Linked DNA regions of Homo sapiens: regions 2 and 3 are each linked to region 1. Evidence: promoter capture Hi-C in 16 types of primary human blood cells and fetal thymus (Javierre and others, 2016). All regions are on one chromosome and are shown on one strand. Each heading gives the region's core, a stretch centred on a gene start or on the middle of the fragment in contact. The rest is flanking DNA. Distances are from core to core; before and after follow the strand shown.

What was found. Contacts are between HindIII fragments. The CHiCAGO score rates a contact against its expected background, and 5 or more counts as called.
Region 2: a contact is called between a fragment that was not itself captured here and the fragment with the promoter of SIAE in region 1, in 1 of 17 cell types (total CD8 T cells). The highest score is 7.6, in total CD8 T cells.
Region 3: a fragment that was not itself captured here is called in contact with the fragment with the promoter of SIAE in region 1 in 2 of 17 cell types (total B cells and non-activated CD4 T cells); the score reaches 6.0 in total B cells.

Annotation. Positions count from the first base shown.
Region 1 is chr11:124,672,252-124,675,152 of GRCh38, reverse strand. SIAE (sialic acid acetylesterase) reads left to right here and starts at 1,414. Exons shown (of 10, transcript NM_170601.5): 1 at 1,414-1,511. The coding sequence starts at 1,445. It overlaps SPA17 (sperm autoantigenic protein 17), which reads right to left and starts at 1,249. Exons shown (of 5, transcript NM_017425.4): 1 at 1,201-1,249. RefSeq lists an enhancer at 1,139-1,318 and silencers at 1,228-1,386, 1,359-1,478. The HindIII fragment of the contact is 8,074 bases long and covers 1-2,901 here.
Region 2 is chr11:125,898,372-125,901,272 of GRCh38, reverse strand. It overlaps HYLS1 (HYLS1 centriolar and ciliogenesis associated), which reads right to left. Exons shown (of 3, transcript NM_001134793.2): 3 at 627-1,929. The coding sequence starts at 1,904. The coding sequence ends at 1,005. All of the region lies in intron 1 of PUS3 (pseudouridine synthase 3), which reads left to right. Among named protein-coding and RNA genes, the nearest start is that of PUS3, 3.4 kb to the left of the region's middle. The HindIII fragment of the contact is 713 bases long and covers 1,034-1,746 here.
Region 3 is chr11:125,877,288-125,880,188 of GRCh38, reverse strand. It overlaps LINC03136 (long intergenic non-protein coding RNA 3136), which reads left to right. Exons shown (of 2, transcript XR_007062935.1): 1 at 1-2,901. Among named protein-coding and RNA genes, the nearest start is that of LINC03136, 4.1 kb to the left of the region's middle. The HindIII fragment of the contact is 1,712 bases long and covers 622-2,333 here.

The sequences.
Region 1 (2,901 bases), core at 165-2,664:
ACTCATACATCTGGACTTGAATTCTTTTTTCCCTAACACAACCCAAGCCCATCCATTTCTTCCAAAGAGTTTTGAAATCTCCATTGTGAATTAGTATAATACAAACACAGACCCATTCACTAGGCCAAATCATTTAAAATCCTGCAAAAAACCCATAATTTTCAATATGACTTTTTCTCTCTTTACCCTTTATATGCTCAAAAGGTAAGGGTAATTTTTGCTATCACACAGGAATTTAGAGAGAATGATTGCTAAAAAGTTAAATTCATTGTCAATTGCTGAGAAGACCTTCTTTGAGGTCTATTTTTTTTTAAAGAGTAGAAATTAGTCCTGGTTCTAGAAATTAATTTGTTGAATGAAGAAGTTGCACAATCTTTCCCCTTGCTGCCACTTCTGAAGCATGACCCACAATGCTTCGAACACCTTCGTACTGTGGAATGGGGTTGTGCGTGCGTGTGTGTGAGGGAGGGATGGGATGGGATGGGGCTGTGTGTCATGATTTTGAAATCCCAGCCTCTAAAGTTTTAGAATTCTTATATTTTTCGGTTTCTTCTTGATCAGGTTGTCTCTTTCTGTCTTGAAATACAAGGGCTAGATTAAGGGTAGCTGCTAAGCAGCGGGCTGAGCTACTACTGAGTATGAAAAGAATCCTCCGGGACCTGGCCTGTTAATGTGAGAGTGTGCGTCAATGCGGAATAGAGGCGGAGGCCGTGGTAGGGGTCCAGGTTGGGAGAACTGGACGGTTTAATGAGGCTCAGACTATGGAGGGTTCTCGTTTCATCGCTTTTTTTTTCTTTGAGAGGGGGTCTCTGGCCTCGAACTCCTGGGCTCCAGCGATGATCCCGCCTCAGCCTCCCGAGCAATTGGGATTACAGGCGCGCGCCACCACGCCTGACTCCTCTCTTTTGCTTTTTCTGAGGGAGCAGTAGATGGGGGTATCGAACCATTCTAGAGTGGTGAAAAGAGCTGGCGAGATTCTGAACCAATGTGGGCAGAGGAGGGCGGGCGGAGGGGGCAGACGGGTCTAGTCGGGGGCGGGATGTTGAGGACCTGGGATTTCAGACTCGCGCAGAATGGGCTGCCTCGGCTCCCAAACGGCCCAGGGCTCCGAGGCTGTGTCTGGGATGCTGAGAGAATAAGAGAGACGAAGGGAAAAGGCTAGGTCTTGGTATCGGAGAGGAAGTGGGGAAGCGGCCTCACCTCCTTTCTCTCCGAGCTGGTGCCGCCGGTTCCGGTTGTTTTTCTAGTTGCTGGGTAACCGTTTTTTCTTTAAAAAAAAAAAAAAACTACGGCGGCCGAGAAGGGGCGAGTACAGCCCAGTCCTGAGGTCGCGGGAGGCTGCGAGGACTGCAAAAGGGTGGAGTCGGCCTCGCCCCCGCCCAGGCCCCGCCCCTGCCGGGAACCCACTTTCCCAGTCCTAGGCGGCGGTCAGATCCTTGCAAGCATGGTCGCGCCGGGGCTTGTACTCGGGCTGGTGCTGCCATTAATCCTGTGGGCCGACAGAAGTGCAGGTGAGGCGGCCCGGCTCGGCCGGACCCCTGCCCCTCAGCCTGTGCGGGCTCCGAGACCCCGTGTCCTCTGCGGGACACGGATCCGCGCCCCTTTCTCAAGGTCGACGAAGGAACCTAGCTAGGCTAGGGGCTCGCGTCTCCGACCGAGGCCCGGTCTGCAGGAGTCTGCTGGGTTGAACCCCGGCCTCTCCACTTTCTCCACCCCCCACTTACCATCCCTGACATGCAGCCTGTGAGCAGGGAGAAAGTGCGGCTTGTCTGAGTGGGGAGGCCCAAATGTGCCCAGAAAGAGGCCTTCGGGGTCCTGGAGTAACTGCAGGGGAGCTCGGAGGGAAGGAGGCGAAGCTAGTTAGGTAATATTTGGAAACAGGTGACTGAATCTTCCAAAACATTTCAGCGCTACCCCCTCAGTGGTGCCCTTGGGGAGGGTTTGCTTCAGGCGGGGTTCCTTAGGGGAATTAAATTTTACTCGTTTAAGTGGTTATCAGGGCTAAGAAATACAACCCCCTCACTAGCTCTGACTATTTAAGGCTCAGTTTTGATTTCTGGTACCGCTTACAGATATTGGTGGTGGGAAAATGTGAGTGGCATAGGGGAGGCTGGTGGCTCCCTTTGGCTGTTGCGCAGGTCAGATCTTGCCATTCGAATACCCTAGGCTGGACACTGGGTCACAGTATGGAGAAAGCAGAAGGTGCAATCTGTCTGATAATGCAAACTAAAGTGATAATGTTGGATTTCTTCCTTTCTGTTTCAAAACACTCAAAGAGTGGACCCCAGAGATCCCTGTTAAGAAATGATAGTTGGGGTAGGAGAACAGCGTGCAGAAAAATGACTCCTGCTCTACCTGAGAGCCGGAAAAGTACCTAGATTCAGACAAACTGCAGCCCATAAATGATTGTTCAGAGTCTAACAAAAGTGCAAAATGCTAGCACTCTGTATGCCATTTCCTGACTCTTATCTCCACTCAGTGACCTTTGAGATCCATCTTATGAGGTGGGGAAAAGATATTTTATTAGGTTTTCAGTTAAAGGCTGTTTATTTTAGTGTCAGTATTTTATCTCCTCCTTTGGGTCTTATTGTTACATCACCTTCATTAACATTGATCACATTTTTCATTCATTAGTACTCTACTTGGTTGCGTATCCTGACGTTTTTCCTTTAAGTCATTCTCCCTGTGCCCATGTTTACCATGTAATGCTTGAGATGTACAAAATTATATGTAACAATGACACAATAAAATGAACACCCATGAGAGCAGTACCCAACTTAAGAACTAGAACATTGCCAGTCTATTGAGCCTGCCATTGTGCTCCTCGCCAATGCATCCGGAGCTCCTCACCAGAGGCAACCACTGCCCTCTCTTCCCCATAACACTAATTCCTGTTTTTCT
Region 2 (2,901 bases), core at 141-2,640, 1.2 Mb before region 1:
CAGGGGCAAATTATAAAAAGAATGGTATTCCAGAAATAACAGCTGGCAGGCAAAATATTAATGAAATAATTCTGAAATAAAACAAGTTTGAATCCTGTATGTTATATGGTACTGTTTTGGGGCATTTGTTAGAAAGTATTTTAAAGCTACTTGGATTTGTTGTACACCTTTAGTAATGAGGCTATCCATGTTGTTAACCTCTCCCATCCTTTAGGACTATGTAAAAGGCAGGTTTTTGTTCCTTCTTTTTTTTTTTTTTTTTTTGAGACGGAGTCTCGCTGTCGCCCAGGCTGGAGTGCAGTGGCGCAATCTCGGCTCACTGCAGGCCCCGCCCCCTGGGGTTCACGCCATTCTCCTGCCTCAGCCTCCCGAGTAGCTGGGACTACAGGCGCCCGCCACCTCGCCCGGCTAATTTTTTGTATTTTTAGTAGAGACGGGGTTTCGCCGTGTTAGCCAGGATGGTCTCGATCTCCTGACCTCGTGATCCGCCCGCCTCAGCCTCCCAAAGTGCTGGGATTACAGGCGTGAGCCACCGCGCCCGGCTTGTTCCTTCTTTTGAGCTCTCATCATAGCCCAGGTTCAAGATCATCTTAGGCAAGTATTTCATGAAATAATGTTCAAGTTCATGAATTTCCAAAATTCTTTAATTGGTAAGTGTAATGCCCAGCAACTTAAAAAACACACACTGAAGCACAGCAACTCATATTGATAGGTAAAAAAAGTTACAGGACACAAAGGGCCCTTACTAATTTGACAAAATAGAAAGACCAGGTCTGTTGTTCTTTCTCTGATATGATTTATCTTGCAATTGCTGGATTTGAGTGGCAATTTGGAAGTATCATCTGATACCAATGTGATATATAGCTAGGAAAGACCAATGATAGGTGAAGTCCTTACCATAAAATGTTTCGAAGAGCTTCTCAAGACAGTTGTTTCTATTTAAAAGGGAAGATATAAAGAGCTAGGTTATCTCAAACAATCCTGTGAAAGAAGTTTAAAAAGATTTAAGAAGGAGAAAGAGGGAAGGGAAGCTTCCTGGGTATGACACCATTTGCAAGGTCACAACGAACACCCCAACGGAGTGCAGACCTTTTCTTCTCTGTTGGTACTAGATAATTGTTTGGGACATATATATGCTGAGGTTTGGATTGGGGTTCTGCTCGACAAAGCATCTGCTCTCGGACACCCCAGCGTAATTCCTTTCTATGATCTTCACCAGGTAAACGTATTGAGTCCCAGTCCCGTTTGTACTCAAAATACCGGGCTACCCGGTCTGTCTTGCCCCGGTTTCGGCTTAACTGGTCCAGCTTTGGGAGAATAAAGGACTTGGGTCTGCTGGCAACAATCAGGTCTTGTTCGTAAGCTGGAGAGCCCATTCCTTCTCTTTGTAGAGAGCAAATGAGCTGATCTTGAGAAATTCCTTGGTATTCATGTGGTAGGTTAAATTTTTGTGAAACATCAAATGAAGATTCCTTGTCTTCCTGGAACTGTACATTCATCAGCCTTTGTCTTAAGTCCCAGAGATCCTGATCATTTTCTGTACCAGATTCTGATTCACTGATAATCGACTCATCTGTTACTAATACTTCCCCATCTGGCTTTCTGCGCAGCACCTTTCTCTTCATCACTGGCTTTCGGAGTCTTTGGGAGGCCTCAGAGACTGTTTCTGAAGGGACATTACTTTCTACATGTGGGTACTGTAGTTGCACAGGAAGAGCAGGTCGCTTCCCTGGGGCTACTGAAGCTTTACTGTAGGGATCATATTGGATAGATTGGGCTTCTCTCCTGACATCTCCTTCACCCTGCCCTGCACAGATGTGGGTAAAAGCTGTAGCAGCTGCCAACATTCGTTCTTCTGGATCCATATTAGCCCATATTTGTCCATCAGGTAGAAGTTCTTCCATTGCTTCCCCTACACTGTAGGACCTTCTGCAAGAGATAACATTGGTCAGTTTTCTGATAATAAATTCCCAGCTCATAAATTGCTCATTCCCTTATCTCCGTTTTATAGCAGTCAAATGGAGAAAGAATGGCTAAGGCCATCATAAATTCAATACAGGGTAGTATCAGAACAGTTTAGAGGGGCATTAACTCAGTTCTAGGGAATCTATTACCTGCTTTCATTTCCACTCTTACTCCTGCTTTCTACTGTCTTGCCACCTTCAGGTCCTAAAACAGGACAGTATAGTTCTGGCATAAGAAAAGCTTGAAACTACATGATATGGGGCATACTGCTTAATGCACATTATGTAACAGGTACTTAGGGAGTACTTTATGTGCCTGCCATTGTTCTATGTGCTTTACATTTATTAATTCATGTAATTTTCAGCTGTGGGATTATCTGCTTTTCACAGATGAATAACATGAGGCACAGGGAAGTTAAATAACTTGCCCAAGGTTACTCAGCTAGTAAGTAGTGGAGCTGAAATTCTAACTCAAGCAGTTTGGCTTCAGACTGAGTCCCTGCTTTTAACCATAAAAGAGTGATTTGATCTAAAAAAAAAAAATCACAAAAGCAGTGTTGTGTTCTCTCACACACATATAATGTGTATATACGTGCATACATATAATTTCTATGCTTTAATAATTTTTTTTTTTGAGATGGAGTCTTGCTGTCACCTAGGCTGGAGTGCAGTGGCATGATCTCGGCTCATTGCAACCTCCACCTCCTGGGTTCAAGCGATTATCCTGTCTAAGACTCCGGAGTAACTGGACTACTACAGGTGTGGGCCACCACGCCTGGCTAATTTTTGAATTTTTAGTAGAGATGGGGTTTTACCATGTTAGCCAGGCTGGTCTCAAACTCCTGACCTCAGGCAACCCACCCGCCTCGGCCTCCCATTACAGGGGTGAGCCACCGCGCCCAGCTGTCTTGGTAGTTTTAATGCATCTTCAGTTGCC
Region 3 (2,901 bases), core at 228-2,727, 1.2 Mb before region 1:
TCTGGTTGGTTTGATCTCTTGGAACCTCGTGCAGGAAGCTAGTCCAAACAGTGGCCTCCCATACTTTGTTTACATGGCATAGTTCAGAATATAAGCTCATATTATGGTGTCATATTATCTAGGTACAAATTCTGCCTTCTCTACTCCCTAGTTTGTGATAAGGACAAGTTACTTAGCATCTCTTTGACTCAATTTTCTCACTTATAAAATGGGGATAATACACTTGAGCATGGGAGGTAGAGGCTGTAGTGAGCTATGATCACACCACTGCACTCTAGCCTGGACAACATCTCACCCAGGCTAGAAATCTCACCTTTGAAATCTCTTAAATGATAAGAGTGGCTTTTGAATGCTAGTGAGATGACTGGTTGCAGGATGGGGGCTGGTCACCAGAAAGACCGAGGCATGATGAGTGTTGGGACTTTCAGCCCCATCTCCCAGCCACCAGGGAGGGGAGAGAGGCTGCAGACTGAGTTGATCACCAATGACCAGTGTAATCAATCATGCCTATGTAATAAAGTTTCCATAAAAAGTTAAAAGGATAGCTTGTGGGGAGCTTCTGAATAGCTGAACATATAGAGGTTCCTTGAGGGTGGCATGCTCAGAGAGGGCATGGAAGCTTCATACCCCCCTCACATGCCTTGCCCTATGTACCTCTTCCAGCTGGCTGTTCATCTGTATCCTTTGTAATATCCTCCGTAATTAGTGAGTTGATGTAAGTAAAATGTTTGCCTGAGTTCTGTAAGCTGCTCTAGCAAGTTAACTGAATCTAAGGAGGGGGTTGTAGGGGCTCCCAATTTATTGCTGGTCAGTCAGAAGTATGGGTGACAGTCTACTACTTGTGACTGGCATCTGAAGCGGGGGGAATTCTTGCGGGCCTGAGCCCTCAACCTGTGGGATTTGACCCTATTTCCAAGTATATAGAATCATAATTGAACTAGAAGACACCCAGCTGATGTCCACTGCAGAGCTGATTGCTTGGTGTGTGGGGAAATAACTCCCACACATGTGGTGTGGGAAGTGTTGTGTTGAGTGGTATGTGAGAGTGGAGGGGAAAAAATGTTCACTAATTCAATTTCCTTTGTAGGGTTGTGATGAGAATTAAATTAAAAAGTGCATGTTAGCACAGTGTCTACCAAGTAATAATAACTAAATACATTATAGATATTGTATAGTATTGTTATTCTTTATTCTTACTCTTATTAGATGAATAGCTCCCTGCCTTCCCTTATATCTCTCTTGGCTCAATCCATCCTACGTCATTGCCAGATGAATCTTCCTAAAACTTTAATCAAGTTATTCTGCTTAAGCACTTGCAGTGACTTCTCTTTGCCAGAGTAAATTCAGTTTGCCTGGGTTCCTGCACAATCTGGAGCCATCGTGCCTTTTCAGTCTTATTTCCCCTCTACTCAAGTCCTCTACTCTAGCTAGTTTTGTTTCTTCGCTGTCCTGAAAGCCACTTGGTTTATTTAACTCTGTGCCCTATACTGCCTTCTTTATCTAGATTGACCTCTCCTCTCTTTCCAAATCCTGTGGAGCTCTTGAATTCTCAGCTCCAACTCACCTCTTCTACCAAGCCCTGCCTAACTACCCTTAAGCCATCGGAATCTGACCATCTTTGAAATTTTTGTAGCACTTGCTTTTATTTGTCATTTAACATCTACAACATTTAGATCGAGACTGTTACTATTCTGTTTAGTCTTATCTTTTCTTCTTGAGATGCTCATTCCTTTCCAATCTTACTTTCTGATATTTCATAATGTGAACCCTTCACCAGTATGTTTACTAAACACTCAAATGTCAGCTCTGATGATGATGGACAATCAAAAATGTCCCCAGACATCACCAAATGTCCACCGTGAGGTCAACATATCCAGGATTGAGAATCAGCATCTAGTATTCACAACATCTAGCATTGCTACATGATGATGATGATGATGAAGAGATGATGTACATTTCCACTGATAGTCATACACGGCCTTCTCTGTTTATGTCTTTCCAGCAATCACAAAGGCAGTGTGTTATACAGGAAACAGCAACAAAGGATCAGGAATCAGGAGACTAAAGTTCTGGTCTCAGTAATTTGCTCTCATAATTTGGATAAGTTAGTCAGTCTGTGTTTCAGCTACTTCACCTACAAAATCAATAGTTAAATGAGATATTGTTAATTGCTTCCATTCTAAAATTCTTTTCTTCTTAAATCTATTTTTTAAAGGCCAACTCATTTTTCTCAATTATTCTTACTTACATATTAAGCATTTTTACTCACAATTTGCCTTACTGTTATTACTTTTCCAAGTATATGTGTCTTATTCTCTCAAGAATATTAAGCTTTTTGGGGCACCATATGTCTTACATTTGTTGTTATTCATAACATCTAGTATTGCCACATGTACAATGAAAATCAAGTTTGGTTGAATTAATTTTGCTTTATTTTCATTTTTGGTAATTTTAGCCTTGGGATCCCTCAGAAGAAGAACATTTAGTTACTACCTTTCACTTAGTAATTTATTTCACTTAGTTCCTGTCCTGAAATTACTAATAATAAATGAGATTCCTCATTTGGGAGGGACAGATGTTGTAAATGTTGATGCAGAGTGAAAGATATTAATGTTGTAAATCAGGGTTTCTCAACCTCAGCACTATTGACGTTTTTGTCTTGATACTTCTTTTTTTATTTTTAATTTAATTTAATTTAATTTATTTTATTTTATTTTTGAGATGGAGTCTCACTCTGTCGCCCAGGCTGGAGTGCAGTGGTGCAATCTTGGCTCACTGAAAGCTCCGCCTCCCGGGTTCACGCCATTCTCCTGCCTCAGCCTCCCGAGTAGCTGGGACTACAGGCACCCGCCACCACGCCCGGCTAATTTTTTGTATTTCTAGTAGAGACGGGGTTTCACT